2 separate regions of the Homo sapiens genome follow, and region 2 is linked to region 1. Evidence: promoter capture Hi-C in 16 types of primary human blood cells and fetal thymus (Javierre and others, 2016). All regions are on one chromosome and are shown on one strand. Each heading gives the region's core, a stretch centred on a gene start or on the middle of the fragment in contact. The rest is flanking DNA. Distances are from core to core; before and after follow the strand shown.

Region 1 (4,750 bases), core at 940-3,439:
TGCCGTGGTGGGTAAGGTGGGCGCCTGAGGGGCGCTGGCAGGTTCCTTGGGGACAGTGGAGGTTGCAGGCAGCCCCTTCTGGGCTTCGTGAATGGGGCAGAGCCGCTGCCGCAGGGGGCTGGGAGGTGAGGGCTGGGACTGGGGCTGCCGCTGCTGCTGCAGGACGGAGGGCAGGAGGCCCCGGCGCCAGCCACTGCCACCCACTTGGTGGCTGTGGTAGGCCAGCTGCCAGTGTGATTGGGGGGAAGGCCGACAGGGCCCATGGGCTCGGAGGGCCGCTGAGTCCTGGCGCCACTGATGACAGCATCCTGGAAGGAAGGAAGTGGGGGTGACTGGGCCTGTGTCCCCGACCCCCGGGGGCACCGGCACAAGCCAGACCAAGTCTTCAGGTAGAACCTGGGGGCCAGAGTATTCTTGGGAGCCCCAGAAACCCCTCAAAAAGTAAGATTATGTGCGGGGGAGGTATGGGCAGGGGAGGGACCCAGGGTCTGTGCTGTCCCATGGCGGGGGAGCAGGGAAGGTGCAGGCTTGGACTTCAGCTGGGGGCAGAGAGAGGACGCCTGAGGTTGGGGCTTCAATGGAGGCTGGTGCCTGCCACAGCAGATTCCTGGATCCCTGGGGGGTGCCGCCAGTGCAGGGGTCAGGGAAACTGAGAAGATCCATTGGGAGCTGGCCCTGGCTGGCCCAGGGAGGCCGGAGTGATGGGTGGTGGCGTGGAGAGGGGTAGGCCAGGGATTTGGGTGGGGGGTGGACCTTGTCCCCAGCTCGGGCCAGGGTGGCAGGAAGGGTGGTGACCTGGGAAGCTCCAGCCCTCGCCCTAGCCCTGAGGAGGCTGAATCAGCCCCAGTGGGAGGGCACTGCCCCCTCCCCACCCTGAACAAGATCACCTGTGGTCACCACCAGAAACTGGGCCCAGCCTCATCCAGACATGTTCAGTGGGGGGGCTCCCTCTCCTACCCCTCACTCCCAGCACACTGCTCCCCTCCAGGCTGGAGGCCATCCACACAGGCCTCAGGGTTTGGAAACGGGGCAGGGCAGGCCAGGCGGCCCCTGCTTCCAACTCCAGCCCAGGCTCCTATCTTTGGGCCCGCAGGCCCTGTGGTCCGGGTCCTGGGTCCCAGGCCCTGCTGCTACACAGATGCCTCTGGGTGGAGTGCAAGTGGCTTTTCTCTCCTGGGGATGACAGCTCCCCTTCTGTTCCTCCATTCACTCTGGCTTCCTCACAGGCCTCTGTCGGCCATCACCCGCCCCCAAACTGAACCCGTACCTTTTCGGTGCCCCAACTCTGGGTCCCAGAAGTAGTGCCCGTTGGGGCTCTGGGCATCCTTGGCGAAGTGGACTTTGTAATGTTTGTGCATGGCAGCCGGGCAGCTGGGTGCTGGGGGCCTGCTCCTGAGGCAGGAGGGAGCACACAGGCTTGGCGTAGCCTCTGGGGCACGAACAGCAGAGAGCTGAGGTCAGGGTCCCTGCCCTGCCCGACAGCTTGGACAGGGGAAAGGCCAAGTCCCAGATGCTGGGTTCCTAGGTCACTTGGGAGAAGGGGGTAGAGGTGGCCTTCAGGGTACAGTGAGGGGCAGGATAAGGAGGGATGGCCAGAGGAGGGAACGGAGAACCGCTGGGGTTGGCTAGGGGTTAATTTGAGGCTGGGTGTTGGGAAGCTCCTGGGAGTTTCCAAGAGGCTAGGACACTGGGGAGTGCTGAGCAGACATGGGCTGGGGAAATAGGGGGTCCGGTGTGGTGGCTGAGTGACCAAGGGGTCATTAAGGTGTGGGCGCTGTGGGAGGCTGGCACGCTTTGGAAGGACATGGAGCTAGTGAGGTGAGCTGGAGAGCAGATGAGAAGCAGGGTGAGTGAAAATCAGAGCTGGGTACCTGTGGGCATTGAATGATACGGTGGAGGGGGAATTGTGAGGGAGCAATGAAATCGCGGTGGTCCAATTTGGGGAGAGGCTCAGCAAACTCGGGCAAGATGGGTGTACCGCGTTTCCAATGTGAAGAGCCGAAAGCAGGACAGGGAAGGATGCTGTGTGGGGGACAGGGATAGGGAAAGGCTGAGGGGCAGAGGAAACTGGGGTGCTGAGAGTTGGTAGCCTGCCCACCACTCCCCACCCCCAGTCCCAGTCCCACTCGTACCTGACGGTGGCCTCACGGCCCCAGCTGCCTGCCCCACGAGCAGCTGCCACACCAGCCCGGACTGTCAGCGCAGGCCCATCCAGATGGAGGCCTCAGCCCAGTGCCCGCCTGACCGGTTTGCCTGCCTGTCCCCGCCCCTTCCCCAGCGCCTGCCTGTCCCAGTGCTCTCTGCTCTCGAGGACTGGGACTCCGACTGGACTCAGTCTTGTGTCCCCATCCCTGGTAAGGAACGGAGATGCATCCCGCAGCACTGCCTCAATCTCCTTAAGGCAGCCACAGGCCCAGGCACTTCTGCTGGTGTGGGGGGGACAGGGAGCTGGGATGCCAGCTCCTCCGTGGCCCAGGTATGTGACCTTGGGCAGGTGACTTCACTCTCCGAGCCATGGCTTCCTCATTGCTGAGTGGGCACCTGCCTCTCGTGGCTGTCGCGAGGGAGGCACTGGGTGGGAGTCCCCTCAGCTCAGGGCCTGGCGCACCTGACCCGGGGCTGTGCTGACCCATTTACCTGGCGCTGTTCTAAATGGATGTCCATAGGACAAGGGCAACAGCACACACATCAAGGCTTGCTACACCATAGCCCCGTCTTCCTCTCCACCACCCAGGGGGCCAGGTGTGATGCCCGCTTCACAGATGAGGACACTGAGGCCCAGAGAAGTGAAGTCCTCGGCCCCAGGGCACACAGAGGCAGGGCGGGGATTTGGAAGCAGTCAGTGGTTGCTACTCCCAGGCTCGCCAAGGCTCTGTCTCCTGCCCTCGGGGCCAGCACTCAGTGACTGCCTCCCCACAGATGCCCTCTGAGGGGTGAGGGCCGGGGTAAGGCTGGGCAGGAGATGCCCTGAAGGCCCCTCGGCTCTCTGGGGCCCCGGCTCCCTGTGGCTGCTGGCGTAACGGGGTCAACAGTTGCTTCCCTGACAGACGGGGTGCTCCGATGGGGATGGGGGAGGCAGCCCCAGAACAGTGCCCAGGACAAGATAAAGGGAACCCACCCAGCCCTGAGTTCTGCCCAGGTGACCAAACACTGCTCCCTACGGCCAGAGCCAGGGCCCTTCCTGCGACCTGGGACCCCGTCTCCTCCCCCACCCTTCAAGCCGGTTGCTCTGGGAAGGTTCCTCCCTGGCCCACCAGGGAGGCGGGGCTGGCATCTGAGCGTGGGCATCTGCAGTGGGCCTCCGTGCCAACCCCCCACACCCCCGGCCCGATCATGAAGCGTGGCCCAATGTAAATGAGCCGTCTCCGCAGGACGAGATTGCCCCGGGCTGGGAGCACAGTGGCCAGGAGGCTGCTGGACACTAGGGGGAGCAGGCGTTTGGGGAGTGGGCCAGGCGGGCAGCACTGCAGAGGCAGACACAGGACACAGCTACACTCAGCCAGGTGGAATAGGAAGGGGTGACCCAGGCAGGGCCTGACGGGGTGACTGGACCCCACTCTACAGGGGAGGTTCTTTAGCAAGGGGCCCCTTTCTCATCCCATTTGGGGTTCACCCCCAGCCTTGGTGGGCAGCTCTGAGCCTGGGGCACTTACCCATGTCAGGCAGCGGGCGGCGAAGCCCAGGAGTCCCCAGATGCTACAGATGCGAGCGGGGTGGGAGGGGGCAGCATAAGGGCCACTCTGCCCAGGGACGGGCAGCAGGAGTGCGTAGGGGCCGCGTGTGTCCATGGGGGTGTCTGGCCTCCCCCTACCCCATGCATCCCCAGCCCTGGCAGCCCCAGCCCGACCTGGCCTACACTCCGGGCACTCCCAGCCCTGCTCCCCAGGAAGACGCTCCGTTCTGTGCACATCGCCGGGCAGAGGGCAGCCCCAGACTTGTTGACTTGGCAGAGGTGCCAGTAAGGCCGCCCATGCCGGAGGCCAGCATCCCTCTGCCAGGAGCACGGGGAGGGAGGGAGTGGAGGGGGACGTGGCAGGGGAGGGAAGGTCTGAGGGGCATGGGAGCCAGAGAGGGTACCCACTCCCCTGCAGGACCTGTGACAGTCGGTCCACAGATCCTCCCCCACTGCTCTGAGTCAGATTCCACACACACAGCCTTTATTGAGCAGCTACTGGGCAGTGACGCTGCCGAGGCGGGAATCCCACCACAGTCCTGACCGCAGCTGGGACCCCTTTGCCTCCTCTGACACCCCCACCTCAATTTGATACCCACTTCCTGAGCAAATGTGACCCCTAGGGCCTGGGATTCCCAAGACCACCCCGAAATGCAGCGGCCCCACCGTCTCCTGAGGCCGGTGAGGCCAGGGGCAGCAGTGCGGCTCAGCAGGTGCGAGGCAGGCTTAGGATTTCGGAATCACCACCTGGAACTTACCTGGAAGAGAAGGCCTGGCTTAGGCTTGAGGATGGGATGGGGGAGGCAGAGGGCACCTGGACGGCTCTTAGGCGCTCACCCCCGTCCTGCACTGACACCCCAGTGGCTAGGTTGGGCTGTTTCCTCCCGCCCACGGGGCCGCATCCCTGAGCTGTGTGAGTAACCAGGAGCATGAGGGCCACGGATGTGGCCCCAGGGAAGCGCCCGGCACGGGCTTCTGTGGTATGCATTGCTCGGTCCTACCCCACGGGGGCCCCGGGGGCCCCCATGAGTGGGCCTGGGGAACCGGCAGAGGCAAAATAACTGAAGGTGGGGGAGG
Region 2 (4,750 bases), core at 1,024-3,523, 180 kb after region 1:
TTTCCATGATTCAATCAGCACCTATTCTCCCAAATGCCTTCTCTGCGTTGGGCCTGTGCTAGGTGGCACTGGGGACACAGTGGAGACTGACATGGCCCCTGGCCGCCTCCTCCCTTCTTGGGGCTCATAGTCTAATATGGGACTGACCTGTCTCCCCACACTGATGACCCAGAGTTGGCAGGGCTGGATGTGGGAGCCCAAGAGCCTGGAAACCTGGGAAATAAGAAAGGGCTTCCTGGAGGAGGAAGCATCAGCACTGGGGCTCAGACAACAGGGAAGTAGAGGGCACGTTGGCTGCAATTCGGAGGGAGCGCGGAGCTGTGCCGAGTCTGGAGTTTGGTCCACGGACCAGCAGCGCCCTCTGCTGGAAGCATTTCATAGTGTAGTGACCGGGGTACCGCGCGCATTGAGCCATGTATGTATGTATGCATTTATTTATTTTTGAGATGGAGTTTCGCTCTTGTTGCCCAGGCAGGAGTGTAATGGTGTGATCTCGGCTCACTGCAACCTCTGCCTCTGGGGTTCAAGCGATTCGCCTGCCTCAGCCTCCCAAGTAGCTGGGATTACAGGCGTGCGCTACCACACCCGGCTAATTTTGTATTTTTAGTAGAGATAGGGTTTCACCATGTTGGCCAGGCTGGTCTCGAACTCCTGACCTCAAGTGATCCAGCCCCCTCGGCCTCCCAAAGTGCTGGGATTACAGGTGTGAGCCACTGCGCCGTCCTCAAGTTATATTAGAATCGTGTCCTCCCAGCTTTGGCCAGCTTACTATTCTAGGACTTGATTCCTTCATTCAGTCACAATTTATTGAGCACCGACTTTGCATCAAGCTCTTGCTGAAGATAACAGTGCTGACAATATACAGCCCTGCCCTCAGAGCTTATATAGTAGAGGAGAAAAAGTGAACCCATAATATACAGTCAGTAGCGAGTATTTACTAAGTACTTTCTATTTGCGAGGCCCTGATAAAAGTACTGTCCTGGCCAGGCGCGGTGGCTCACGCCTGTAATTCCAGCACTTTGGGAGGTCGAGGTGGGCAGATCACCTAAGGTCAGGAGTTCGAGATCAGCCTGGCTAACATGGGGAAACCCCGTCTCTACTAAAAATGGAAAAATTAGCTGGGCATGGTGGCGGGCGCCTGTAATCCCAGCTACTCGGGAGGCTGAGACAGGAGAATGACTTGAACCCAGGAGTTGCAGTGAGCCAAGATAAGATAGCGCCATTGTACTCCAGCCTGGGTAACACAGCGAGACTGTGTCTCAAAAAAAAAAAAAAAAAAAAAAAAGTACTGTCCCTGTATTAGTTAACATTCAATTCTCAAAGCCTTAGACTATTTATATTTTATTGACTAGGGAAACTGAGGCACAGAGAGGTTAAGTTACTTGCCCAAGGCCTGCACAGCAAGTAAGTGCCGGAATCAAATTTGAACCCTGAGCCCAATTCTTAGATATCACATTCCCTTGCCAATAACATAATATATAACATAACATAATGATGTGATATATGTTATATAAAATAACTTTAGGGGCCGGGGGCGGTGGCTCACTCCTGTAATCCCAGAACTTTGGGAGGCCGAGGCGGGAGGATCACTTGAGGTCAGGAGTTTGAGACCAGCCTGGCCGACATGGCGAAACCCCGTCTCTACTAGAAATATAAAAAGTAGCCGGGCGTGGTGGCAGACACTTGTAGTCGCAGCTACTCGGGAGACTGAGATGGGAGAATCGCTTGAACTTGGGAGGTGGAGGTTGCAGTGAGCCGAGATCGCGCTACTGCACTCCAGCCTGGGTGACGGAGCGAGACTCCCTCTCAATAAATAAATAAGGTAATTTTAGGCCCTGAAAAGTTTTGTGAACAAAATCAAGAGGAGTATGTAATGTTTTGGTGGAAGGGTGCCATTTAGAAGGGGGCAATCAGGGAAGGCCTGCCGGAGGAGGTGGCCTTTGAGAAGAGACCTAAAGACGATGAGATCTGTGGGAAGAGAGATCGAAGCAGGCCACACAACCAAGGAAAAGGCTCTGGGGCAGGCACTGCAAGAAAGCCACCTGTCTGGGATCTAAAGTTTCCAAAGTTTTAGCTTGGCCAAGGCCCCTGCGCTACAATCACCCTGATTCGAGGTGTCCTGGAGGTTACCAGTTCCGCGTGCGAAGTTCTGCCATTCCCGCGGGGCTGGAGCCCCGAGGCTGAACTTCCCACGGGCGGTGGGCGTGGCCGGCTCACCTGCGGGGGCGTGGCTCCCGGCTGCCCCGCCCCTCGGAGGAGCCGCCCGAGGTCCCAGACGCCCGGCGCAGCGGGAGCGGCGGGGCGTGCCTGGCCTGCGGGACGCGACTGATCGCAGTGGGGCGAAGCGGGGCCGGAGCCGCCCGCGGTCAGGTGGGTGCCGGGAGTGGGGCGCGGGACTCTCGGAGAGCCGCGATGATGGGGGGCGGGGGCAACCCTGGGCCCGCTCGCCCTGAGACGGGGAAGGGCCTTGGGGCTCCCGGATGCCCCCTGCCCCGTCCTGGGGCTCTCCGGGATCTGGAGGCCTGGCTGGGGTCCCATGCCCCCCACCCCAGCGCAGGTAAACAGCGAGGACGGGGCGGGGCCTGGGAGGGAGAGGGAGGGGGCCCTTGTGACTGCGGGTGAGCCTGGTGCGCGGGGCTGGGCAGGCCAGGGTAAGTTGGTGCGGCTTGCGGGGCTGGGCCACGATGGGAGTCTCCTGCCTGCCTGTGTTTGTGTGTGTGTGTGTGTGTGTGTGTGTGGCTTTGCGTGTGTGTAAGAGAGTGTGTCAGGCTGTGGGTATGAGGGTGAAAGCGACTGTCCGTGTAACCCTGTGATGGGACTGTGTGTATGATGTGACACTTTTAGCAATGTGAAAACGTGGGCGACCTCTGACTGGAATGGTGTGTGTGTAGAATTGGATTGCTGGTAGCACTTTACGACCAAGAGCTAGTGCGACTGTAGTCGACTTTCTGCTTGGCCTGATGTGCATGTGTGTGGCTGTGTGTGTGGCTGTCTTCATGGCAGAGAGTGGAACTGGTTGTAGGATTAGGTGTGATTGACCAAGAGGCTGTGCGGCTGTGGTTGTCTTTCTGCCTGTTGGTGTGTGTGTGTGTGTGTGTGTGTGCGCGCGCGCGTGTGGTGGACAGTGTGGCACTGGATCAGTGATAGGTGACTATGATTGACTTTTGATTGTGTGTCACTGTGATGGTGCATGGGGCTGGGCGGAACTGTGTCCAGAAGTGGAGCTGTTTCATGGGACGGTGCGCGTGGAACCTTGGGGTTGGATGAGTGAGGTGTGGAGGTGTGTGAAGCCGTGTGTGCGTGTGTGTGTGTGTGTGTGTGTGTGTAGAGAGGAACTAGAGGGTGTGTGATCTGCATTGATACCGTGGCTGGCAGTGGTGTGCAACGGAGAGTTTGTGGGAGATGGGAGTGGAGACGTGGACATTTAAGTGGGATGCTCCTCCAAGCGGGTGACAGGATGGAAAAGGGGGTCCGCGTCAGGGATCAGTGTGTGGGACTGTGCCTATGATTATCAGCTGTGCGGTTGTGCACCCGGGGCTCTGTGTGAGTGTGGGAGCTGCTGTGTGTCTGGGACACAGCCCGAGTGCTGGATGGCTGTGGTTGAGCCGTGTTTGTTGCTGTGGTTGTCAATCTGGCTGTGGAGTGGTGTGTGTAAGGCTGTGTCTGAGGTTATAGAGGGAGGTTTTACATCGGCAAAATTGTGTGAAGAATGGTTGTGGTTGTCAGGATGACTCTTGAACCTGTGTGGTTGTGAGTTCAACCATTTATGATGTTTGTGTGTGAGGTGTGAGAATAGGTATGGTGTGATATACACAAGCACACAGATTGGCCGGGTGCAGTGGCTCATACCTGTAATCTCAACACTTTGGGAGGCTGAGGCGGCGGGGATTGCTTGAACCCAGGAATCCTAGACTAGCCTGGGCAATATGGTGATACCCCGTCTCTACAAAAACAAAAATTAGCTGGGCATAGTTTAGTTTTTTAAAAATTAAAAAAAGGTTGGCTGGGCGCGGTAGCTCACGCCTGTAATCCCAGCACTTTGGGAGGCCAAGGGGGGAGCGGGTGGATCATTTGAGGTCAGGAGTTTGAGACCAGCCCGGCCAACATGGTGAAACCCCGTCTGTACTAAAAATACAAAAATTAGCCAGGTGTGGTGGCGGGCACCTGTAATTCCAGCTACTTGGGAGGGTGAGGGAGGAGAATCGCTTGAACCTGGGGAGGTGGAGATCGCAGTGAGCCAACATCATGCCATTGCACTCCAGTCTGGGCAACAGAGCGAGACTCAGTCTCAAAAAAATAAAATTAAATTTTTTAAAGGTTGATATATACATCACATATATACACATACATATATCTAGAGAGAGGGAGAGATCAATGACGATCAAGTCTGTGGTGCACAAAACGTACAGGACCCTTACTGTATGTGATCGTGCATGTACAACATGTGCAAAAACCGCTGGGCTGCTTATGGTGGATGCAGTGGCTTGAGTGAAGTGTGCGAGAACGTGGCATCCCTCCACGCGTATTCACAGCTCTCTGTTCCGACAGTGGAGCTGAATCTGAGTACTTGTGTGTGCATGGCGTGTAGGTGTGGGAGTCCCTGCTGGCCAGGCCTGGAGTGGGAGGGAGAGGAAGTAGGGAAACTGGCGAGGGATCCATAGTGAATCTTGGGAGTGTGTGCATCTGGAGGTGCGTTGGGCACATTGTGGGGAGTTGGCTGCTTGGGAGCCATGTGAGTTCGGGGGACAGC

What was found. Contacts are between HindIII fragments. The CHiCAGO score rates a contact against its expected background, and 5 or more counts as called.
Region 2: the fragment with the promoter of KLC3 here is called in contact with the fragment with the promoter of NKPD1 in region 1 in 2 of 17 cell types (megakaryocytes and erythroblasts); the score reaches 6.9 in megakaryocytes.

The regions. Positions count from the first base shown.
Region 1 is chr19:45,158,793-45,163,542 of GRCh38, forward strand. It overlaps NKPD1 (NTPase KAP family P-loop domain containing 1), which reads right to left and starts at 2,190. Exons shown (of 5, transcript NM_198478.4): 1 at 2,133-2,190; 2 at 1,268-1,429; 3 at 1-308. The coding sequence starts at 1,358. It overlaps TRAPPC6A (trafficking protein particle complex subunit 6A), which reads right to left. Exons shown (of 6, transcript NM_001270891.2): 6 at 4,141-4,431. The coding sequence ends at 4,400. RefSeq lists an enhancer at 1,840-2,472. The HindIII fragment of the contact is 37,147 bases long and covers 1-4,750 here.
Region 2 is chr19:45,338,477-45,343,226 of GRCh38, forward strand. It overlaps KLC3 (kinesin light chain 3), which reads left to right and starts at 2,274. Exons shown (of 13, transcript NM_177417.3): 1 at 2,274-2,370. RefSeq lists a silencer at 2,170-2,259. The HindIII fragment of the contact is 17,587 bases long and covers 1-4,750 here.